Linked DNA regions of Homo sapiens: region 2 is linked to region 1. The links are contacts of gene promoters, found by promoter capture Hi-C in blood cells and fetal thymus (Javierre and others, 2016). All regions are on one chromosome and are shown on one strand. Each heading gives the region's core, a stretch centred on a gene start or on the middle of the fragment in contact. The rest is flanking DNA. Distances are from core to core; before and after follow the strand shown. Region 1 holds the start of JAM3 (junctional adhesion molecule 3). Region 2 overlaps GLB1L2 (galactosidase beta 1 like 2).

The links. The method cuts DNA at HindIII sites, captures the fragments that hold promoters and counts their contacts. A CHiCAGO score of 5 or more calls a contact.
Region 2: a fragment that was not itself captured here is called in contact with the fragment with the promoter of JAM3 in region 1 in 1 of 17 cell types (total CD8 T cells); the score reaches 5.2 in total CD8 T cells.

The regions. Positions count from the first base shown.
Region 1 is chr11:134,066,519-134,072,509 of GRCh38, forward strand. It overlaps JAM3 (junctional adhesion molecule 3), which reads left to right and starts at 2,554. Exons shown (of 9, transcript NM_032801.5): 1 at 2,554-2,641. The coding sequence starts at 2,566. RefSeq lists a silencer at 2,359-2,548. The HindIII fragment of the contact is 4,850 bases long and covers 1,813-5,991 here.
Region 2 is chr11:134,348,185-134,354,175 of GRCh38, forward strand. All of the region lies in intron 5 of GLB1L2 (galactosidase beta 1 like 2), which reads left to right. Among named protein-coding and RNA genes, the nearest start is that of GLB1L2, 19 kb to the left of the region's middle. RefSeq lists a silencer at 1,444-1,503. The HindIII fragment of the contact is 2,227 bases long and covers 2,709-4,935 here.

The DNA.
Region 1 (5,991 bases), core at 1,304-3,803:
CAGGTGATTCGCCCACCTTGGCCTCCTAAAGGGCCTGGATTACAGGCCTGAACCACCGCACCTGGCCCTATCAGTCTTAAGATCTGTTTTAATGTTGATGCTGGTCAGTTGGCCTGAATTCCAAAAGGGTGGAGGGTATAATAAGGCATATCCAACTCCCCGATCATGGCTTAAACTAGTTTTTCAGGTTAACTTTGCAGTGCCTTTGGCTGAGAGGAGGGGTCATTTCAGATTGTTGAGGGGCTTAGCTTTTTTTTTTTTTTGAGACAGAGTCTCACTCTGTCACCCAGGCTGAAGTGCAGTGGCGCAATCTTGGCTCACTGCAACTTCCACCTCCCGGGTTCAAGTGATTCTCCTGCCTCAGCCTCCCGAGTAGCTGGGATTACAGGCGCCTGCCACCATGCCTGGCAAATTTTTGTATTTTTAGTAGAGACAGGGTTTCACCATGTTGGTCAGGCTGGTCTCAAACTCCTGACCTCATGGTCTTCCCTCCTTGGTCTGCCAAAGTGCTGAGATTATAGGCGTGAGCCACCACGCCTGGCCAGGGCTTAGCATTTTATTGTTGGTTTACATTCAGTTCCCCGAGCTCTTTTAAGAAGTGCATGTCTCCCTAGTAAGCCACACCTTAGAAATAAGCATATTCAGATGAGTAATGCTGTGATGGAGGCAGAGCCTCCTCAGCCCTGCTCACGGAATGCTTCCAGGACTTTGCTGCTGGCCTTATTGAGCTCTGATTCCCTTCTGCACAGGGTCAGAGCTCTCCAGGGAACAATGAAACCCTAAGGAAGAGCAGACCACTTCACAGCCACGTGTGTCCTACCCCACTCTGCTGCATCCCTAGTTAGACTTCCATTCCAGGAACTGTCTCAGCTGTTGGTAATGACATGCCGACTCCATCTGCAGAGGAAAATCAATGTCTTACAATGAAGCACCTGCCATCCACTCTCCTAGGAACCTCTGCCCCTTATAGAATATTCATGCAGCCCTTTTTTGTAATCTCGGTCTGAGTTTCAAAAGATTCCCTAGCAGGAAGACCATTTAACAGATAGACCATTTTACAACGCAAACACTGAAAATTCCGCAGGAGAAAAGAGGCACTGGTTTTTGAAAACCGTGCTCTGTCCACAGTCAGACACCATCTCACATTTCCAAGTAACCCAAACAGTTCCTTCAGTTAGGTAAATATGCCTGGCCATGTGACCAGGAGCTAAAGGGAATAATAGGGAAAACAGAGGGCAGAAAAAAATGTCAGTGGGCATAAGACGAATTTTCTTCTTTTTAATTTCTCGATTTTGTGCTTGATAAAGGGAAAGAGGCCACCATTATAAAACAACTTTTACACACTTTTACTTGTGATTTAGTGCATGGTGACCTGGAACATAAAGAAGATTTATGAAAGGAAAGACAGAATCATAGTAGGTAATTGAGTTATTTTTTAATTTTTATTCTGTCTTTATAAGATTTTTGAGAAGGTAATCAATTAACATAAAGATCTGAGCAGTTATAAAGATTTACAAAGAAGATTATACAGTGATGGAAACTGAAGCATATTCTTGGCAACAATCTCAATCTATTTCACGTTTCCCGGCTTTTACATATATAAATTTGGTATACATAATATGTAAATATACTTCTATTTTGCATGAAAACTAAAAATACTAAAAAAGTAGCATGAGTATATGAAAAAGTTAAACATTAAAAATATTAGTTGGAAACTGGCTTATTTTACTAACAATTATATTCAGAATTCTGTTGCTAGACTGCTGTTTCTGGGAACATTGGAGGTGTACTTTCTATACTTGCTAAAATACAAGCTTTTCAAGTATTTTCCATAGTATTAAGTGAGACTTTAAATACTCTTGCTTTTTTAGATCTAATTTCTGCTTTAATTTATCCTTCTCTTCATTTTTCCTGTTTGTCCTCATCTTACCTGTTCTTCCCTGGTTTTACTATCTCCCAGTATTCAGAAATCAGAGCAAATAATTAGTCTGCTTTTCTGCAGAATAAACTATTGGGTATGCCATCATGCTTTTGATCTACCACATAAACAAATTATTTTAGCAAGACATCACTTTTATATGCTGTATAATGTATGTATTGCTTATGTTTTAAGCAGATTTCAGCTCTTTTCCTTCCATCAATTTGGAATTGGGGGCCCAAAAGATGTGAAGGCGATAATGCTTCCAAGATAACTGGGCTGCATCCTTATTTGTAAAATAAGAAATACTTTATTTCCCAAATTTTAAAGGAGTGTTCCTTCTCCGACCTGTTGTGATGGATTTATTCTATAGCTATGGAAATATACCCTGCTTCACTCTTGTACATACTTCTTTACTCTCCTCCCGCCAAGTTCATTGAAAGAGAACCCATGTGCCGGTCCAGAGCATCGCTGCATCCGTAAGCAGCTAGACCTCAGCTTCCTCTGTCACCATGGTGCCGGCTCGGCTGGGCCCGGCGGTCGCCATGGTAACTGGGGCGGGTCGCAGGGTCCTGGCAGGCTGGGCGCATGCGCGCGGGGACTACAAGCCGCGCCGCGCTGCCGCTGGCCCCTCAGCAACCCTCGACATGGCGCTGAGGCGGCCACCGCGACTCCGGCTCTGCGCTCGGCTGCCTGACTTCTTCCTGCTGCTGCTTTTCAGGGGTGAGTTTGCGCGTTTCCGCTGTTGGGAGACTAGGGTCTGGGGGCGACGGAAGCAGAGCGGGCCGAAGCTGCTGGAGCCGGTCCGGGCGAGGATAGCGGTCCTGGCTCCGAGGGCTCCCGGGGTCCCGGGCCGGAGGGGCGGCGCGCGCCCGCGTCCCCGCAGCCAGGGCTGGGACTCGGGCCTGGCTAGGGCGGGGGCCCTGGGACGCCCGGCAGTTGGACCGGGGCGGGGAGCTAATTTGGGATGGGGGGCCCGTCCCAGGCAGTGAGTCGGTCCCGGACAGCCGTCGGACCCCGGGGGCGGGCTCTTCTCGGGCGGGGTCCTGTGCTGGGCGGTGGGCTCATCCCCCGGGTGGGCTCCTCCCAGGCGGGGTCCTGTGCTGGGCGGTGGGCTCATCCCCCGGGTGGGCTCCTCCCAGGCGGGGTCCTGTGCTGGGCGGTGGGCTCGTCCCCGGGGTGGACCCCTCCCGGGCGGTGGGCACGGCCCTCTGGAGGGAGCGCGGCAGCTGCGGCGTGGGCGCTGGAACTTGCTGGAAGACCCTGCGCAGCAGTGCTGTGCTCTCCAGAAGGGACGGTGAGCGGGGGACGTAGCTGAGGACCGGCGAGGCAGAGCTCCGAGGCCTGGCGGGCTGCTTGGTCACAGCCCTCTGGGGATCTGCAGTTCATTTGACTCGACACAAAGGAACTGCTTTTCTTTTACAGAAATAAAATGGATATCAATCCAGTACCTTTTTTGTCTCTGGCCTGGCCGAGGAGACCACGCAGACTCTTATCCGGAAATAGCATTCGGGGCATTTGATCAAGACACACTAATAAACTTGATAGTTTTGTGCATTTTCTTTCCCTCTGTTTGGAATTCTCATTAGATCCACATTTTCCTGGACAGTTGTACAGAGGACTAAAATAGCTTTCCTTTAGTGAGCTTGTACTGTCTACTAGGCACTTTGGAGCCATTATCTCGTTTACTCCTTTCAGCAGCTCTGTGAGATAGGTTTCATTAATCCATTTTCAGAGTCAAGTCTAGTCTGCTTTCCAAGGCTGCATTCTAAGTAGTGAAGCCTCAACTTCATATTTACCTAAAGCAGGACACCACACTCTTCCCCTGGCAGCCATCCGCAGGTAACCAGACCAGGACCTTTTTCGGTTCTTAGATTATTTTATTGTTTGAATTGCCACTGTCATCCCATGATGTTTTCCAGAATATACAAATTAAAACACGGAGGGACTGTTTAGGAGTGAAGGTGGACAGATTTTGGAAAACAAAGCATTCCTGTGTTTGGTGCTTTATGCTAATGGGATGCTCGTGATGGGCTGTGACAAAAGATGAGTTTTAGCGTATAGATTATGTACGCTAAGGCAAAGTCTGTATACTTTGCCTGAAAGTGATTCCCAAAACCAAATGCTGTTGGGAGATAAGTGATCAAAGGCTAGCCAGGGGACAAGGGTGTCAGGAATGTCCAGCACCCGCTGTGTTGGTCACACTGACACTGTCCTATTCACAGCCTGGAACAACTCTCTATTGTTGAAAAGATCTGTTCACGTGAAAGTTTGCAGTTTTTGTTGCAGAAGCATTTGGCAGTTTAGCTCAGGAATGAATTTCAACTTGGTAGTTTGTTAATAAAACTAGAAAATGCAAAGAGCTTCACTTACCCTTAACCTCTGATTTCCTTCCCCTAAGGGACTAGTTTTGTGGCTTTTTTGCTGGTAGGGGCTGGGATTCACATGCAGAGCGTAGGAGGAAGAATCAAATTTTGCAAACTAGTTCTAATGACAAATAATCGAGGTAGTAGGATGTATGAATCCACTTTGAAGGCGTGTAGCTATCTTTTTTTTAGTAGGGGCTCTTTTTCCATTATTTGGTTTATGCTTTAAGCTACCCTAAAACTGTTCTTCCAGAAGTCATGACTACTGTGTCCTTTTTATTTTTTATGATTATTCTCAATTGCTATTACTATTTATTTTCATCTTAAAAATTTTGGTTCTTGATATAACAGCAAACATTTCTTTTGTGGTTACCCTTTGCCAGGCTCTGTTACAAGAATTTAATGTTTGCTAATTTATTTAATCTTGATAACTCTAAGAAGTCGTTACTATTGTTGTGCCCTTTTGTGGATGAGGGAACAGAAGTATGGAGAGATTCAGACCCTTGTCGGGAGTGTTATCCTGTGCGTTTTAAATGGGAAATCCTTCATTATTTGTGTTAATCCAATTTTTAGTTATTTGTATTATTCCATTTGACGGTGGAGTTCTTTTAATGGATCAGTTTAAACAGATTATCAAGTTTTCAACACTATGTGGTTTGTATATAAAATATTCTTTTGTTGACTCATGACAGGTGCAGTTCAGCTTTACAAATGTTATGCCACATGGCTTTTTTGAATGATTGTGTACTCATTAGTGTTAGGTTTCCAAATCTTTGATATTCTAGAGAGAAGTGCCTTATTTAGAATTAAAACAGCAACAGTTTTCATTCTTCAGATAAGACAACTTGTGTGCTGAAGCATATCAAAATCTGAAAATCAAAATTTCTGGGAAATTTTTGAAAAAATGTTTAATTCTTTTATTTGCATCTGTTTGGACTCCAGTAACGTTTTTTAGAATGGCATATTCTTTTATGTTCTAATTCTTAATTATCTGGCAGATATAATCATTGTCAGACTTGTGTGTATGTTTTAAAAAAAACAAAGAACACCTGTCTTGAAAGCATGCAGTACTTTATATCAGCTGCTCATTCCCACATGACTTGTTGATGGGCATTTGTTCTTCAGTGCTTCAGGCTAAGGAGACTGAATGGATAAGTACTAGAGATACTTAATCATAAGTAATTGCAGTATTACATTCAGGCAGAATTATCCACACAACCCCTAAGCTCCATGGAACTTGTTCTTAAACTCCATGGGGTGGGTTTAAATCAGTTCTTTTGAAAGCAACCAGACTTTCCTCAAGTATAAGATGGCCACATAATGTAACAGACGCAGCTATGGATTTAGTACATTCGACTAGCAGCTGTTAGAGATGTGGTATTAGCAAATTCCTTCTCCATAAATTCTTTGAATTTTTTAAAAGCACAAATGTAGTAAAAGAAAGGAAAATATGTGTGAATGAAGTTAGGATGTATGGAGTCTGCTGAAGAATACCCTAGTGGTGAAGTTGGATTTTTTTTTTTTTTTGAGACTGAGTTTCTGATGCAGTGGCATGAGCTCAGCTCACTGCAAAACTCACTGCAAAACTCCGCCTCCCAGGTTAAAGCCATTCTCCTGCCTCAGCCTCCCGAGTAGCTGAGATTACAGATGCGTGCCACCTTGCCTGACTAATTTTTTTATTGTTTTTAGTAGACATGGGGTTTCACC
Region 2 (5,991 bases), core at 2,572-5,071, 280 kb after region 1:
ATGAAACACAGGATGCTCAGTTATATTTGAGTTTCAGATAAGCAAGGAATAATTTTTTAGTGTAAATATATTCCAAATATTGCATGGGTCATACTTACACTAAAAAATTATTTGTTGTGAATTCAAATTTAACTTTATGTCTGGTATTTTTGTTTACTAAATCCGGCAGCCTTAACCATGACAGAAGCAAGGAACTAGGAAGTCATTAGCCTAGATCTTGCTGGGAAGCTGGGGATCAGCAGGTTGTAGGAGTCGGGTGGGCAGCAGGATGGCCGTCCTGGGAGCAGGCTCAGAGGCACTTGCAGACGTGCAGCGGGTCACCAATGCATCTTTTTGAAATAAACGATAACATAATTATTATTATTTAACATATTTAAATAATCACATAGTTATTTAATTTTTGTGACTATGGGATAGTATACATAACATAAACTTTGCCATTTTAACCATTTTGAAATGTACAGCTCAGCGGCATTGAGTCCACCCACACTGTTGTGTGCTCATCTCCACAGCCTTAGTTCAGGCTGCCACAACCAAACACCTAGACTGAGTGGCTTACAGACAAAGAAATTCATTTCTCCCAGTTTTGGAGAGTGGGAAGTCCAAGAACAAAGCACTGGCAGATTCGGTGTCTGGAAGGGCCCCCTTCCAGGGCATATACGGCCATCTTCTTGATGCAACCTTACATGGCAGAGAGCGTCAGAGAGCTCCCTGAGGTCCCTCTTATAAGAGCACTAGCCCTGTTGGCAAGGACTCTATGCTCATAACTAATCACCACCCAAAAGTCCCACCTCTGAATACCGTCACAGTGGGGGTTAGGATTTCAACATGTAAATTTTGGGAGAACACAGTCTATTGCAACCACTGTCTATCTCCAGTCCTTTTCTGTCTTCCCCAATGTAAACTCTGTGCCGTTAAACCCTCCATTCTTCCCTCTCTCAGCTCCTGACAGCCATTCTACTCTCTGTCTCCATGCATTTGATCATTTTAGCTACCAAATATAAGTGAAATCACATAGTATTGTGACTGGATTATTTCACTTAACAGCGCCCTCAAGGTTCATCTGTGTCATAGCCTGTGTCAGAATTTCCTTCCTTTTTAAGACTGAATTATGTTCCATTGCATGTATATAACACGTTTGTTTATCCTTCATCCATTGACGAACGTTTGAGTTGCTTCTGCCTTTTGGCCACTGTAAATAAAGCTGCTGTGAGCATGGGTGTACAAATACCTTTCTGAGCCCCTGCTTTCGCTTCTTTTGGGTATATACCTAGAAGTGAAATTGCTGGATCAACTTGTCATTCTACATTCAGTTTTTTTTAGGAATTGCCATACCGTTTTCCACAGAAGTTGCACCAAATTACATTCCCACCAGCAATACACAAGCTTTGCAATTTCCCCACATCCTTGCCAACACTTGTTATTTCCTGTTTATCTGGGGAGAGCCATCAGTGGGTGTGAAGTGGTATCTCATGGTGGTTTTGATTTGCATTTCCCTGGTGATGTTGAGCATCTTTCATGTGCTGATTGGTCTTTTGCATATCTTGGAAGAAATGTTTATTCAAGTCTTCTGCTCATTTTTGAATCTAGTTGTTTGTTTTTATGTTGTTGATTATAGGAATTCTTTTTACTTTCTGGAGATCAATTCCTTAACAGGACCTGCCAGGACTGGGTCCTTCGCTTCAAGGCAGCAGGTTCCCTTTTGGCTCAGGGTATGTCTAGAAGTGTCTGGAAGCTAGGGCCTGGAACGAGGGCCTCTTGACTCTGCCGGCGCCCTTTCCTACTGTGGTTGAGCTGGATCCAAGATGCAAGACAAAGTCCTCTTTACTCTTTGCTCTCCTCTCCTTAAGCAGAAGGAAGGAGCCACTTTCGTTGCTGTGAGCTGCGCTACCTGGGCTTGGGGGAGGGATGTGCAAGAACTCCCTTAGCCATGCCAGCTGGTGGCTCCTTAGGCCATGCGCTGTGCTAGTACACTGGCTGTAAGCTCATCCTAGCTCCAGGAGTTGCATAGGAATTGCGGTCTTTGTGTCCTAGACTGCCTTTCATGTTTACCTAGGACTCCAGAGCACTTCAGCCCATGGTGGTGAGGCTTCCCAAGAAACTCAAGTTCCAATCACTAGGGTGGGCAGTTCCTCTCTGGCTAGGGCTGGTCCAAATGCTCCGTCTACGTGGATGCTGGCTGAGCTCAGCATGGCTTTATCCTGTGCTGTGACAAGGCAGCACTGAGTTCAATGTAAAGTTCCCCAGTCACTGTGCTCTCCCTTCCCCAAATGCACAGATCCTCTCTCCTCACCACTTGGCTGCCGCTGGGAGATGGGAGAGGGTGGCATCGGTGGTGTAAGGCTGTCTCTCTTGCCTGCCTTAATGCGTCTTTTGGTGATATGAAGTTAAAACCAGGTACTGTGACGGGTCACTTGAGTTTCGGTTTTTGTCATGGTGCTTTTCTGCGTGCAGATCACTGTTAAAATTTCGTGTTCCAGCAGGACGGATGAACGGTGCAGCCTTCTATTCCTCCATCTTGCTCCACTGTCTTTTATTTTCTTTTAGTATTTTGTTTGTAATGTACAATCAGTGTACAAATATTTCACCTCCTTGATTAAATGTATTCCCAAGTATTTTGTTGTTTTTGATGGTGTCGTAAATGGAATTGTCCCCTGATGGTGGATAAAAACAATGCATTTTTGCACATTGATTTTTTTTATCCTGCAAGCTTACTGAATTATTAGCTAGATAGTTTTTTTTAGGGGTGTGGGGATGTGCACTGTTTTCTGCATTTAAGATCATGTTGTCTGTGAACAGAGATAACTTCTTCCTTTCCAACTTGGTTGCCTTTATTTTTTTCTTGACTAATTGCTCTGGCAGGACTTCCAGTACCGTGTTGAATAGAAGTGCTGAAAGCACGAATGCTTGGTTTGTTCCTGATCGTAGAGGAAAAGTTTTCAGTCTTTCACCAGTGAATATGATGTTGACTGTGGGCTTTCTGTATGGGGCCTTTACTATGTTGAGGTAGTTTCCTTCTGTTCCTAGTTGACTGAGTGTTTTTTATCATGAAAGAATGTTGAATTTTATCACTTTTTTCTGCATCAATTGGGATCATCATGTGGTTTTTCCTCTTAATTTTGTTAATGCGGTATATTACATTGATTGATTCTTTTTCTTTCTTTTTTTTTTTTTTTTTGAGATGGTGGTTCCCTCTTGTTGCTCAGGCTGGAGAGCAATGGCGCTATCTCAGCTCACTGCAACCTCCTCCTCCCAGGTTCAAGTGATTCTCCTGCCTCAGCCTCCTGAATAGCTGGGGTTACAAGCACCTGCCACCATGCCCAGCTAATTTTGTATTTTCAGTAGAGATGGGGTTTTACCCTGTTGATCAGGCTGGTCTCAAACTTCTGACCTCAGGTGATCCACCTGCCTCAGCCTCCCAAAGTGCTGGGATTATAGGCATGAGCCACCATGCCTGGCCTACATTGATTGCTTTTCACATGGCAAATCATCCTCGCATTACAGGAATGAATCCCATTTGATCATGGTTTATAATTCTTTTAATATGCTGCTGAATTAAGTTGGCTAACATGTTGTTGAGGGTTTTGGCATCAGTATTCATCAGGACTGTTAGTCCGTGTTTTCTTTTCTCATAGTGTCTTTTGTTTGTAATAAAAGAAAAAAGTGTCAACTTTTTTTGACACTTCTATATCCAGCAAAACTCAAAAATGAGGGAAAAATTAAGAAATTCCCAAAGAAAAGTGAAAAGAGTTTATTACTGTATTCTACCTTATAGAATAAGGTAGGAAGTGTTCCTTCCCTTTCAATTTTTGGGAAGGGTTTGAGGAAGACTGGCGTTAATTTTTCTTTAAATATTTGGTAGAATTTACCAGTGAAGCCATCTGGTCCTGGACTTTTCTTTGTTGGGAGGTTTTTAGTTACTGATTCAGTGTCCTTACTAGTTATAGGTCTGTTCAGATTTTATATTTCTTCATGATTTAGTTTTGGCATATTATATATTTCTAGGAATTTGTGTGTTTCATCTAGGTTATTTAATATTTAATTTGTTGGCGTACAATTTGTTCATATTCCTCTTCTGTAATCGTTTTTATTTCTGTAAAATCAGCAGTAATAGCCTCATGTTGTTTCTGATTTTAGTTGAGTCATATCTTTTTTCTTAGTTTAGCTGCAGTTTGTCAGTTTTGTTGATCTTTTCAAATAACCAACTCTTGGTTTCATTAATTTTTCTTTATTGTTTTTCTATTCTCTCATTGTCTATCTCTGCTCTAATCTTTATTATTTCCTTACTTCTGCTACCTTTTAGTTTGTTTCCCTTTTTCTGGTTTCTTAAGGTATAAAGTTAAGTTGTTGGTTTGAGACCTTTTGTCTTTTAAATGTATTTATAGCTATAAAATTTCCCTCTTTGCACTGCTTTCACTGTAATTCATAATTTTATTTCCATTTTCATTTTTCTCAATATGTCTTCTTTTTTTTTTTTTTTGAGATGGAGTCTCGCTCTTGTCGCCCAGGCAGGAGTGCAGTGGCATGATCTCAGCTCACTACAACGTCCGCCTCCCAGGTTCAAGTGATTCTCATTACTCACCCTCCCAAGTAGCTGGGATTACAGGTGCCCGTGACCACGCCCGGCTGATATTTGTATTTTTAGTAGAGACGGGGTTTCCCCTTGTTGGCCGGGCTGGTCTTGAACTCCCTATCTCAGGTGATCCGCCCGCCTTGGCCTCCCAAAGTGCTGGGATTACAGGCGTGAGCCACTGCGCCTGGCCTCAATATATTTTCTAATGTCTCTTGTGATTTCCTCTTTGGACTATTGGTGAAGATTTTATTTCCACATACTTGAATTTTTCAGGACTTTTTTGGTTATTGATTTCTAGTTTCATTCCATTGTGATTGGGAAAAATAAAACTTTGTAAGATTTCAATTTTTTAAATTTATTAAAGCTTGAGGCTGGGTGTGGTGGCTCATGCCTGTAATCCTAGCACTTTGGGAGGCCGAGGCAAGTGGAACACTTGAGGTCGGGAGTTAGAGACCAGCTTGGCCAACATGTTGAAACCCATTCTCTACTAAAAAATACAAAAATTAGCCAGGTGTGGTGACGGGCACCTGTAATCCCAGCTACTTGGGAGGCTGAGGCACAAGAATCACTTGAACCTGGGAGATGGAGGTTGCAGTGAGCCAAGATTGTGCCACTGCACTCCAGCCTGGGTGACAGAGCAAGACTCTGTTTTTTTTTAAAAAAGAAAAATTTATTAAGGCTTGTTTTTTTGGCTTACTATATGGTTTATCCTGGAGAGTGTTTTATGTGCCCATGAGAAAAATGTGTATTGTGCTACTTTTGGGTGGAATGTTGTGTATATATATGTTTGGTCCAACTGGTCCATAATATTGTCTAGGTCCTCTATTTGGTTACTAATTTTCTGTCTGGTTACTCTATCCATTATTGATATTCAGATATTGAGTCTCCTACTATTATTGTCTATTTTTCCCTTTAATTTTGCCACTGTTTGGCTCATATACTTTGGAATTCTGGCATTTGGTGCATATATGTTTATAATTGTTATATCCTTTTGGTGAATTGACCCTTTTATCATTATATATATTTTATCATGTCTTTGTCTCTTGTAACAGTTTTTGATATAAAGTCTATTTTGTTTGATATTAGCAAAGCCACCCCTCCTCTTTTGATTACTGTTTGCATAAAATATCTTTTTCCAGCCTTTCACTTCCAACCAATAAATATCCTTAGATCTGAAGTGAGTGTCTTGTAGATAGTATATAGTTGGATATCGGTTTGTTAAAAATCCATTCTGCCAATGTATGTCTTTTGATTGGGGAGTTTAATGTGTTTACATTCAAAGTAATTACTGATAGAGAATCACTTGCTTTTGCCATTTTGTTGCTTTCTGTATGTCTTACAGCTTTTTGTCCCTCATTTCCTTTATGACTGCTTTACTTTGTATCTAGTTGATTTTTTTATAGTGACACTTTTTTATA